Regions from separate parts of the Homo sapiens genome. Here region 2 is linked to region 1. Evidence: promoter capture Hi-C in human tissues and cell types (Jung and others, 2019). All regions are on one chromosome and are shown on one strand. Each heading gives the region's core, a stretch centred on a gene start or on the middle of the fragment in contact. The rest is flanking DNA. Distances are from core to core; before and after follow the strand shown.

Region 1 (6,428 bases), core at 2,688-5,187:
CTCTCTTTAAAGATAGAGATGGGATCTCTCTATGTTGCCCAGGCTGGTCTCAAACTCCTGGCCTCAAGGGATACTCCTACCTTGGACTCCCAAAGAGCTGGGATTATAGGTGTGAGCCACCACGCCCAACCTACTATCTCTCTTTATAGGCTTGCCTATTCTGGACATTTCATATAAATGGAACCATTCAGTATGTGGTCCTCTGTGTCTTGACTTCTTTCACTTGGCACAATGTTTTCTCTTTTTTGAGACAGGGTCTTACTCTGTCACCCAGGCTGGAGTACAGTAAGTGGCATGATTGCAGCTCATTGCAGCTTCGAGATCCTGGGCTCAAGCGAGCCTCCCACCTCAGCACCCCCAAGAACCTGAAACTAAACACATGCGCCACCATACCTGGGTAATTTTTAAAATTTTTTGTAGAGACGAGATCTCACTACATGGCCCAGTCTGGTCTCAAACTCCTGGGCTTAAGCAGTCCTCCCGCCTCAGCCTCCCAAAGTTCTGGGATTACAGGCCTGAGCCACTGCACCCCGCTCCTTTTAATCTTTTTAGGAATTCTAAGTCATTGAGAGTAGACTGTATTAAGAATGGAGTCCCACTGTTAGATTGTGGAAATTCCTCCCAGTCACCAAAAGGCTTGTCTCCTTTCAAAGCTGATGCTGACGGGTGCCTATGGATGCTTATGGATGCTTATTGTGCCTAATAAGCTCCTGTTTTGAGCTGAGAGATGTTTCAAACTTTAAGCTTATTTTCACAGGGTACAAGCTCTAGATCATGGAGTCATTACTATGATGTCCTCCTTCCTTCCAAGGGAATGGTTTTCCAGTCTGCAAGCCACATTATAATATTAAAATTATTGGCTGGGCATGGTGGCTCACACCTGTAATCCCAGCACTTTGGGAGGCTGAGGCAGGTGGATCACCTGAGGTCAGGAGTTCAAGACCAGCCTGGCCAATATGGTGAAACTCTGTCTCTACTAAAAACACAAAAATTAGCTGGGCATAGTGGCAGGCGCCTGTAGTCCCAGCTACTTGGGAGGCTGAGGCAAGAGAACTGCTTGAACCCAGGAGGCAGAGGTTGCAGGGAGCTGAGACGGTGCCACTGCACTCCAGCCTGGGCGACAGAATGAGACTGTCTCAAAAAAAAAATTAAAATTAAAAATAAAAATTATTTCACAGATTTTATATACACGTGTTTTTGTAAACACACAGAATATCTTTGAAAGGATATAAAAGAAACTGGTACAAATGGTTGGGGGACAGGTGTAGAAGGCTCACTTTCTGGCTGGGCGCGGTGGCTCACACTTTGGGAGGCCAAGGCAGGTGGATCACTTGAGGTCAGGAGTTCAAGGCCAGCCTAGCCAACATGGTGAAACCTGTCTCTACTAAAAATACAAAAATTAGCCCGGTGTGGTATCGTACACCTGTAATCCCAGCTACTAGGGAGGCTCAGACACAAGAATTGCTTAAACCCAGGGGGCAGAGATTGCAGTGGGTCAAGATCACGGCACTGCACTCCAGCCTGGGCGACAGAGCCAGACTCCGTCTCAAAAAAAAAAAAAAAAAGGAAAAAAAAAAGCTCCCTTTTAACTGTGTATTCTTTTGTAAATCATTAAAAGTAAATAAAAATAATTACTTCATAAATACCAAACAATAACTTTTGCTAGAAGTATGAGGCTTGTTTATTTTAAAGGGACATCTTGAGTTATAACACACTAACCTTTCAAAACACACATATTTTCATTCCTCAAGCCTTTGTTTCTGCTGTTCCCTCAGCTTGGATTATCCACTCCTCCTTACTCTCCCCACATCTCCCTCAAAATCTGACAATTTATGTAATTTTTCAGTTTACCAAGTATTTTTAGATATACGATTGAATTTTTGCTTTCCAAGCAAAAAAGACACAGTAAGTATTATTATTATTTTTTGAGACGGAGTCTTGCTCTGTCGGCCAGGCTGGAGTGCAGTGGCACAATCTTGGCTCACTGCAAGCTCCGCCTCCCGGGTTCACGCCATTCTCCTGCCTCAGCCTCCGGAGTAGCTGGGACTACAGGTGCACACCACCATGCCCAGCTAATTTTTTTGTGTTTTTAGTAGGGACAGGGTTTCATCGTGTTAGCCAGAATGGTCTCAATCTCCTGACCTTGTGATCCGCCCGCCTCAGCATCCTAAAGTGCTGGGATTACAGGCTTGAGACACCGCACCCGGTGTTAAGTATAATTATTTTCATCCTCATATAATAAATAAGAAAACTGAGGTTGGAAAACTTCACAATTATTAAGCTTCAGAGCTAGAATTGAAATGTACTTCTAACAGGTCCAGTGTTCCTTCTACTTTTTTAAGCTATGAAATCCTATACATTTAATTAGGCAACTGGACAAAAATATACACAAAAGAGTGTTATTTACAATATCCACAAATTGTAAATAACCTATGTGTTAAAAAATAGAGGATCAAGTTATGGCACACTCATACAACCATTATGTAAAGACAGGCGCTGTGGCGTGCACCTGTAGTCCCAGTTACTCAGGAAGCAGAGGTAGGAGGCTCCCTTTGAGCCCAGGAGTTTGAGGGTACAGGGAGCTACGATGGCGCCACTGCACTCCAGGCTGGGCGACAGAGCCAGACCCTGTCACAAAAAAGAAAGGAAAGAAAGAGAGAAAGAAAGAAACAAACAATGAATAAAAGAAAGAGAGAAAGAGCATCATACTAAAAAATTTATATATTACTACTAATAATAGATTAAATGCACTTTAAATGCTTACTATGTGCTGAATACTGGGCTAAATTTATTTTATATGTATTGTCTCATTTAATCCTCACAACCACCAATCTGCCCAAAGCCTTGCTGTTAATAATGCAGCAGAACTTGACTGGTATTAAAATCCAAAGCTCAGGCTGGGGACGGTGGCTCACACCTGTAATCCCAGCATTTTGGGAGGCCCAGGCAGGGGGATCGCCTGAGGTCGGGAGTTCGAGACCAGCCTGACCAACATGGAGAAACCCCGTCTCTACTAAAAATAACAGAATTCGCCGGGCGTGGTGGCGCATGCCTATAATCCCAGCTACTCGGGAGGCTGAGGCAGGAGAATCGCTTGAACCCGGGAGGTGGAGGCTGCAGTGAGCCGAGATTGCACCATTGCACTCCAGCCTGGGTAACAAGAGCAAAACTCCATCTCCAAATAAATAAATAAATAAAAATCCAAAACTCACGATCTTAACCACTAGATCACGCTATCGCAAGTACGAAGACCGTTTCTTTCACAATCACAAACATCTATGGGATACTTCTGAAAATTCTGTTCAAACTTCTCTTGCCCAGGTCTCTGTGTTCCTATAACAATGTGTATCTCTTACAGCACTTGCTTGGATCCATTTATGTACCTCTCACAGATCTTATGCTCCTGCAGGCCTGAAACTTAAGCCCACTTTCTATTTTTCATAGCTCCTGGTGCAGTGCTTTTTACTGTGTAGGCGCTCATTAGTATTAAACTGAATGTGCCTTTAACTTGGCTTGGGGTACGTTGAATTGAGGATGAGCGCTCACACAATATTAAGAATTTCTTTCCAAGAAATGTGCTCGGGTCAAACACAAGGCCTTTCTGTCCATGATCCGCCTGAAACCATGGTTTCCTTGTTTTCGCCTTTATCCCTTCTGCCTTGCCAGTCCTCCCCGCCAGCGGGGCCGAGAGCCCGGCGACTCTTGCGTGACCGAGCGGGCTCCGCTGCCTACGGCAGCCCACCCCCAGCCCCTGCTCTGAGGCACCGAGAAACGAGGAGGCCCGTGGCGAGTCTCCACGTGGGTACCGGCGCTCTCGGCGCCCGTAGCCACCCGCCCGCCGGAAGCCGACATCTCGAGTTCTGGCAGAAGCAATTTGCGCGGCGAGGAGCGGAGCGGCAGGAACCCAATAAGCTGCTTCGCCTCGGAGCTGAAGCCCGTACTCAAGATGGCGGCTCCGGGCGGGCGTGGCCAGTGACTAGAAGGCGAGGCGCCGCGGGACCATGGCGGCGGCGGCGGACGAGCGGAGTCCAGAGGACGGAGAAGACGAGGAAGAGGAGGTAGTAAGCGCTACGCCAAAAGCCTGCACCGCAGTGGCGGTGATGCCTGTGCTGGCTGTGTGTGGGGAAGGGAGTTGGGGAGCTGCGGGCCGGAGGGAGGCCCCACTGCTCCTCACCGGCTTCTTGCTCCTGGGCGCGAGGAGCCGGGCAGCTTGGGACCTTAGCCCTAATCGTCACCCCGTACTTGGGATGGGAAGTACCGGGAAGTTACCTTAGGTAGCGTAGTTTCCTCTTGCTGAAAACAGGGTCCGGTTTTCACAAATGTGGGAAATTTGGCTTCTTTTGCTAATTGCTCCCTCTTGGCCGCTCGCGTGCTAGCATGTTAACCCCTCTTTCTTTCACCAGGAGCAGTTGGTTCTGGTGGAATTATCAGGAATTATTGATTCAGACTTCCTCTCAAAATGTGAAAATAAATGCAAGGTTTTGGTGAGTTTTCTAGACTTGGGGGGATTGTTCTAGAGTGTCTTAAATGTAAAACAAGAATCAATGGTGAAATACCTATCCGCAAGTATTGATATATTTATTTCACCTTACAAAGTAGTGAACTCTAAGGATAAGAAGTATACTAAGTATAATTAATTAATATGTAATTAAGTATAATGTAGAAGTACAGCGGGGACTATGGGAGCAGATAGGAGAAAATGGCTAACTTTGCTTGCCTGTTTGAATGTGTGGCTGAAGAGAAAGTTACAGATTTGGAGGAAGTAACATTGTGATATGGAACCGTACATATATTCCTGTATTCTCAGCACTTTGGGAGGCAGAGGTGGGAGGATCACTTGAGCCCAGGAATTGGAGACCATCCTAGGCAACATAACGAGACCCCTTCTCTAAAATAATAATAAAAAAAAATGGCCAGGCGCGGTGGCTCACGCCTGTAATCCCAATACTGGGAGGCCGAGGCGGGTAGATCACGAGCCCAGGAGTTCGAGACCAGCCTGGCCAACATGGTGTAACCCCGTCTCTACTGAAATACAAAAATTAGCCAGGCATGGTGGTGGGCGCCTGTAATCCCAGCTACTCGGGAGGCCGAGACAGGAGAATCGCGTGATCCCTGGAGGCAGAGGTTGCAGTGAGCCGAGATCGCGCCACTGTACTCCAGCCTGGGCAACAAAGGGCAAAACTCCATCTCAATAAAAAAAAAAAATAATAATAATAATAAATTAGCTGGGGATGGTGGCATGCGCCTGTGGTCCCTGCTGCTCAGGAGGCTGAGGTGGGAGGATTGCCTGAACATGATCATGCCACTGCATTCCAGCCTGGGTGACAGAGCTAGACACTGTCTCAAAAAATAAATAGATGACAGATAGACTCTTTGCACTACTGTTGACAAAACTTCCTCTGTTTTTAGCTTACTCTTGAACAGGATGTTGATTGAAATAAACCTTGTTACTTGAGTATGAATTAAGTAGTCTTCAGGTTGTAACTGCTGTGATCAGAGCAGTTGTAGTTTATCCTGTACTTGGTAGGACAAGATGCTCTAGAGGTTCCCCAGTTTTGGAGATTAGTTTCCTTGGTAGCAAGGTTACAATGTTGAAGCCTTTTTCTAATTATGTTTTTTTTTTATGATCCTTTATTCTGTTGTAGGGCATTGACACTGAGAGGCCCATTCTGCAAGTGGACAGCTGTGTCTTTGCTGGGGAGTATGAAGGTAGGAGGATGTCAGATAGATGGAACTCTTTCTGATATGGGCTTTTCAGAGATGGTAGCTCTTCTCAACAATTTGCCTTTGTATTTTTCTGCAGACACTCTAGGGACCTGTGTTATATTTGAAGAAAATGTTGAACATGGTAAGTGATTGCTAGCCCAGCCCTTTTTAATACGAACTATTTCAATCATACTTAAGCATAATAAATATCTCATGTATCCACTGTCTAGCTGTATCATATCCTATCATTTTCCCAAACGTGACTCAGATTATAGTTAAAAAAAAAAAATGCCAGGCTGGGCCAGGTGGCTCAATCCTGTAATCCCAGCACTTTGGGAGGCCAAGGCAGGCAGGTTACTTGAGGCCAGGAGTTCGAGACCAGCCTGGCCAACATGGCAAAACCTCATTTATACTAAAAATACAAAAATTAGCTGGGTATGGTGGCATGTGCCTCCCAGCTACTCGGGAGACTGAGGCACGAGAATTGCTTGAACCTGGGAGGTGGAGGTTGCAGTGAGCCGAGATCGCACCAGTGCACTTCAGCCTGGGCAACAGAGCTAGATAAACTGTGTCTCAAAAACAAACAAAAGAACCCATTCCAGATACATTTGAAGTCCTTCTATCCCCCTTTCCAAACTTACTTCTTTCCCTCTGTCTTCAGAGATGATCACTCTCCTGAATTCTTTTTTTTTTTGAGACAGAGTCTCACTCTGTCACCCAGG
Region 2 (6,428 bases), core at 1,228-3,727, 290 kb before region 1:
GCTAGTATCACAATGCAAGAAAGAGGTAATAAAAGCCTGAACTAGGAATGAGGACTAGAGATGAAAATAGATGAGTGCAAGGCATATTTTAGAGACAACACTGAAAGAACTTGACAAGTTCTGAATGTGGAGTGCAAAGAAGGGTCTGCAAAGAGGTAAAATAAATTTCTAGGCTAGGAAGAGGGTGGTGCCATAACCAAAAGAGAGGACACTAAAGCAGCAGCAAATCTGAATGGGAGGAAACTGAGTCCTGGGCATACTAAATTTTGGTATCAGTGGACATTCAGGTGACAATATCATGAATAAAATATGTTAAGCTATGCTGTTTAGAACAAAATATAGAATTTTATGAAAAAGAGAGAGGAGCTCAGATAAATTAATCTTCAATAAAAGATTCTGATCAATGATTCAAACATGAACATAACCTCAAAAATATAACCTGCATAAGTTTCATTAAGTGCACAGCAGATTAAAATCTAAAAGCCCGTTTATGAAAGAGTTCTTCTCATGATCTAGAACAACATCATGTACCCAATAATCTTTTTGTTTATTTGTTTTGAGATACGGTCTGGCTCAGTTGCCCAGGCAGAGTTTGCAGTGATCTCAGCTCACTGCAACCTCCACCTCCCAGGCTCAAGCCATCCTCCCACCTCAGCCTTCCAAACAGCGAGGACCACAGGAGCACACCACGCCCAGCCAATTTTTCTATTTTTTGTTAGAGATGGGGTTTTGCTATGTTGCCCAGGCCGGTCTCGAAGTCCTGAGCTCAAGTGATCCACCCACCTCGGCCTTCCAAAGTGCTGGGACTACAGGCATGAGCCACCACACCCAGCCCAATAATCATTTTAAAACATGCTGATTCAGAGCTAATAGTAAAGTGGACACATGGAAGCCTCAAAGAATCTTACAGTTAAAAATTATGAGAGGCTGGGCACGGTGGCTCACACATGTAATCCCAGCACTTTGGGAGGCCGAGGAGGGTGGATCACGAGGTCAGGAGTTCAAGACCAGCCTGGCCAAGATGGTGAAACCCTGTCTCTACTAAAAAATACAAAAAAAAAAAAAAAATTAGCCCAGCATAGTGGTGGGTGCCTGTAATCCCAGTTAATTGGGAGACTGAGGCAGAGAATTGCTTGAACCCAGGAGGCGGAGGTTGCAGTGAGCCGAGATGGCGCCACTGCACTCCAGCCTGGGCGACAGAGAGAGACTCTGTCTCAAAAAAAAAAAAAAAAAAAAAAAAAAAAAATTATAAGGAGAAATGCTTCCATTAATATGGTAAATGCATCTTTTGTGGTCACTATCATTTAACCCCAATTTATACAATATCACAGCAAGAATGGTCAAGTCAGATGAGTAGCCCTGACTGACAAGGTCCCAACGGATACTAACTAGATCCTTTCGTCAATAAACACTGCTCATCAGTTAATAAAATGGAATTTACCTAGATGTATCCCTACCATATCCCCAGAATTCTCAAAAGCCTAAGAAACAAAAGATCATGAAATCACGTTGTGGGGCCAAAATAAAACCTCCAACATAAACTGAGGAGAAAATGAGGATTACAGCTATTCCATAACCATATCTTCTTAAGAACAAACAAAAGAAACTTGCATCAACATAAACTAAAATAACAACAATGTGAAGATGAATATCTAGCAATATAATCTGATATCAGTAAATAATGGTTACATGTATACTGAATAAAAAAAAGTAAAATCAAACACTAACTTGCAGCTAATTTGCCTAATAAGTATATACCACCTGTTAGATTTATTTATTCATTTGTTTATTAATATTGATAACATTCTTTTTACTAGATGCAATGTCATTATTTCAGTTTAGATCTTAAGGGAAAGAAAAATGAGAACTCAGTATTAATTACATTTTTACTAATGATGAGCAATAATATGAAGAACAAATTGGATTGAAATGTGCATGCTTCACATGTGACTACTCCATTAAAATTGTACAGTAATCATTTGTTCAAAATCACACTGATATTTTACAGCTATGCATAAATATAATGGAATGATACCCACCAAATGTTAAATAGTGTTAATCTTTTTATTATAGGTTTATGGGTGATTTTTATCTTCTTTTTTGCTTATGTATATTTTCAAGTTTTTCTATAATTAATGTTTTATTATAATGGTACCAAGAAGAAAATATATTTTTTAAAAGAGTAGGGAAAAACATATTGATGAATTTAAAAGAAAAATACTTACCAAGTCTCTGTGAAGCACCCAATTTGCATGGAGGTAATGGATACCATCAAGAATCTGGTAAAGTAAGGATTTAACCATAGATCTTGGCAACTGCATGGGCTTTTTATTTGCTTTTGATGCACGGTGAAACTTAATAATATGCTAAAAATTAAAAAAAAACATAATAATATAGTCTTTGCTAATATCTATGCCAATAAAACACAATCAATGCTGTAACAAATGCTCTATATTTTAAAATTACTTATTAAAGGCCAATAATGACACAAAGAAAAATAATTTGAGTAATAAGTTCAACCAAAACAATCTATTTTGAGGGTGACTGTGACCATGTTAATGAGGGGTTATAATGACTAAATTTACTGAAACCATTAAGATTTTCATTAAATAGGACCAAAAGGTAAAAAGGACTGATATTGAAACAGCTGCTGAAGAAGAGTATTATATTCTCTACTGACAGAATGAAAGATTTAAAAAAGAAAGAAAAACTGTAAATCTTCACTTTCTATAAAAAGTTAGCACTTAGTACACTTGGGTAACATCACTGATCAGGTGTATATTTGAATTATTGGAAAAGTTTCATCTTTGGCACAGAATAAATTAGAATATATTCCTAGGAGTTAATGTTAAATATGAAATTGCTAAAAAGGAAGAGAGAGAAAAAATAGGAAATTCGATCCCATTGAAATAAATACAACTGGGTCACCATATTCAAATTTTTATATCCACGTTATATTGTGGGTTATAAAAACATTGTACTGAAAGGGAAAAAATGCTACCTGCCCCCGCAGTGCTCCCACCTCCACCTCCATCCCTACCCCACCCCTGCCTCTGTCCAAAACATAAAATGGACACTGAGGACCATCAAAATCCTATGCAAACAATACTGATGAAATTGTCAATAGCGCTCCAGTAACTTTAAGATGACCAAATGGTATGTAAAATTATTAAGCTATTTATACAGCTTTTTTATTTTTATAAACTGTTCAGTAATAACATTGATTTGATTTTAAGAAATAATAGAAAAATAGAGTTTATACTACAGCAGTGATTTCCAGTAGAAATATACTGGGAGCCACATGTATAACTTTCCACTTTTTAACAGCTACATTAAAAAAGAGGCTGGGTGTGGTGGCTCACACCTGTAATCCCAGCACTTTGGGAGGCCGAGGCAGGTGGATCACCTGAGGTGAGGAGTTCAAGGCCAGCCTGACCAACACGGTGAAACCCCGTCTCTACTAAAAATACAAAATTAGCTGGGCGTAGTGGTGTATGCCTGTAATCCCAGCTACACAGGAGGCTGAGGCAGGAGAATCACTTGAACCCAGAAGGCGGAGGTTGCAGTGAGCTGAGATTGCATCACTGCACTCCAGCCTGGACAACAAAAGTGAAACTCCGTTTCAAAAAAAAAAAAAAAGAAACAGGTAAAATCAATGTGTGCACTTCAGATACTTCTGAAGTGAATTTTCTAAATATTACAAATACTATCTTCTCAGTAAAATGTCAGTTTATTGCTTAAGTTCTTTAAAATCAACATTTATGATTATATTTATTTTGAAATATGGTATTGGACAGTACAGTTCTACAGGATCTGACTATTCCAATGTACAACATCATCTTCTTTCATCACCCCACTGATGTTCAAAGTAAAGTACATACACTGTCCAGTAAGCCTTGGTTGACATATAGGGGAATATAGAAAAATGGAGAAAATACAATGTCTGTGAATATCCATGAAAAGAATTGAACAAAAAAAACACACTGGAAATTCTTGTCCATATCTGCTATAATAGCATACACTCTGAAAGTTTCTTTAAGACCTGAGTCTGTTAAAGTTATTCCTCAACAGATTTATAACTTATATAGATGACAAACCACATTATATTAAATCAAAATTTATTAGTCAGGTGTGGTCATGCACCTGTGGTCCCAGCTACTTGGAAGGCTGAGGCAGGAGGATCGCTTGAGCCCAGGAGGTCAAAGGTGCAGTGAACCATAACTGTGCCATTGCACTCCAGCCTGGGTGATAGAGCGAGACCCTGTCTCAAACAAACAAACAAACAAAAAAGGCTGGGTGTGATGGCTCATGCCTATAATCTCAACAGTTTGAGAGGCCAAAGTAGGAAAATCACTTGAGCCCAGGAGTTCAAGACCAGCTTGTGCAAGGTGGCAAGACCTTGTCTCTATAAAACATTTTTGAAAAATTAGCCAGGCATAGTGGTGCTAAATTAATTATCCATAATTTTAACTTAGTGCCAGATTTGAAGTTTGTTACTTTTAGCAGTTCCTCAGATAAAGTGTTTAAATGTTCTGATTCCTAATTTGAAAAGACAGGAATTAGAATTTTTTGCTTCTTTCATACGTTGATAAAAACATCCTTAAAGCAATCTTCACTATACATATTAGTAAACTGCCATTAATTACTTGCATAAAAGTATAGTCTCCCGCCAGGCATGGTGGCTCACGCCTGTAATTCCAGCACTTTGGGAGGCCGAGGTGAGCAGATTACCTGAGGTTGGGAGTTCGAGACCAGCCTGACCAACATGGAGAAACCCCGTCTCTACTAAAAATACAAAATTAGCCAGGCATGGTGGTGCATGCCTATAATCCCAGCTACTAAAGAGGCTGAGGCAGGAGAATCGCTTGAACCTGGGAGGCAGAGGTTGCAGTGAGCCAAGATCGTGCCACTGCACTCCAGCCTGGGCAACAAGAGCAAAACTCCCTTCCCCGTTCGTCTCCCCCGGGCCAAAAAAAGTATAGTCTCCCATTCATTAAAATCTTTCTGAAGTAAAATTTCTAAATATTACAAATACTATCTTCTCAGTAAAATGTGAGTTTATTGCTTAAATTCTTCAAAATCAACATTTATGTTTATATTGACTTTGAAATATGGCTAACAGAGCAAGCTTTCCTTTCTGTGCATTAACAATATGTATTTTATATAAATATGCTCCATACCTATATAAAACAATCCTAGAAATACAGTGAGATTATACTTACCCACAAGTCATGCTCTGCATAATCAAACAGCAGCCATACCTTCCTGTCACTGTGAGAAAGGAACACCTTCTGCAATGCAATCACATTAGGGTGCTTCAATTCTCGCAAAAGCTGAATGCAAAAGAAAGAGAGGGGTCACTGTTGTGTTAGCAAGGAGGGGGAAATGATGAATGTCTTATAACTTCAAAACGAAATTTCTGAAAATCTAGAGAATCCAGGTAAGCAAAATGAAAGAAAAAAATACCACCCAAAATACTGGCATTCAGAGATAAGCTCTGTCAATATCTTGGTGCATATCTTTCCAATCCTTTTTCTATGTGCTTAGGTATATCTGTTTTGTTTTGTTTTACTTTCTTTCTTGTCAGAGACTGCAAGCAGGAATGTGTTTTTAAAAATAGGATTTTAAATGGTAAAATGTAAAACAGCAAACAAAAGTAATATCATATCATTAAATAATTAATTACATTTTTGTACATGCATATCTTTTTTACTAAAGAAACTGTTCCTTGGGAGGCAGGACTCATGTATTAATACTGCTTATATCTACCCTAGCACTGTATTGGTGCTCAAGAAACAGGCGACAAAACAAGGAAAGATATTTAACAATCCCTGTACTTATCCATCCCTAGAGTATGTGGTTGAGGGTTTTTTTTTGAAGAGTAGTGAGTATAAGGGAATGACTGTCATGCCCACTTATAAAAACTGAAGTTGAGAACAGGTCCTGTAAACAGAAAAAAAGAAATAGGACTTCACAAAGTAAAAGCTTTAAGCTGGACTCTGACGATATGTAGGAAAGATAGACCAGAGCAGCAAGCAGAAACAGCACTTTGCGCATAACAGACAGCTGTTTGATAAAATATTTAGCAACAATGACATTATTGCTCAAGGTAAAAGCCTTAGAAATATGCCTCCCTCAGGCTGTCCTTAAACAGGGTTCAGATTTCACAGGTAAAGAGAAACATATTCAATTTAATAAATATTTTGAATACCTTTTAAATGTAAAGCTCTGTGAAAGATGCAAAAAGGGAAAGACAAAACTTCCCTTGAATATTTTATATGTGCAAGATGATTATATACAAATGTTTTTCTCTCACTTAATCTTTAGAACAATTTTATGATGCACACAGAACCCAAGGCTCAGTGTGATAAAAATAACATGACCAAAGTCAAATAGCTAGAAAGAGAAGGGGTTTGGACTTAAATAGA

Evidence for each region. The method cuts DNA at HindIII sites, captures the fragments that hold promoters and counts their contacts. A contact is called where the count stands out against the background at its distance.
Region 2: a fragment that was not itself captured here is called in contact with the fragment with the promoter of GTF3C6 in region 1 in 1 of the 25 tissues and cell types used here (heart left ventricle).

The regions. Positions count from the first base shown.
Region 1 is chr6:110,954,769-110,961,196 of GRCh38, forward strand. GTF3C6 (general transcription factor IIIC subunit 6) reads left to right here and starts at 3,938. Exons shown (of 6, transcript NM_138408.4): 1 at 3,938-4,058; 2 at 4,404-4,484; 3 at 5,646-5,709; 4 at 5,804-5,848. The coding sequence starts at 4,002. RefSeq lists an enhancer at 3,811-4,260. The HindIII fragment of the contact is 9,932 bases long and covers 1,513-6,428 here.
Region 2 is chr6:110,665,209-110,671,636 of GRCh38, forward strand. It overlaps CDK19 (cyclin dependent kinase 19), which reads right to left. Exons shown (of 13, transcript NM_015076.5): 3 at 5,223-5,333; 4 at 2,226-2,366. Among named protein-coding and RNA genes, the nearest start is that of CDK19, 150 kb to the right of the region's middle. The HindIII fragment of the contact is 6,157 bases long and covers 1-5,556 here.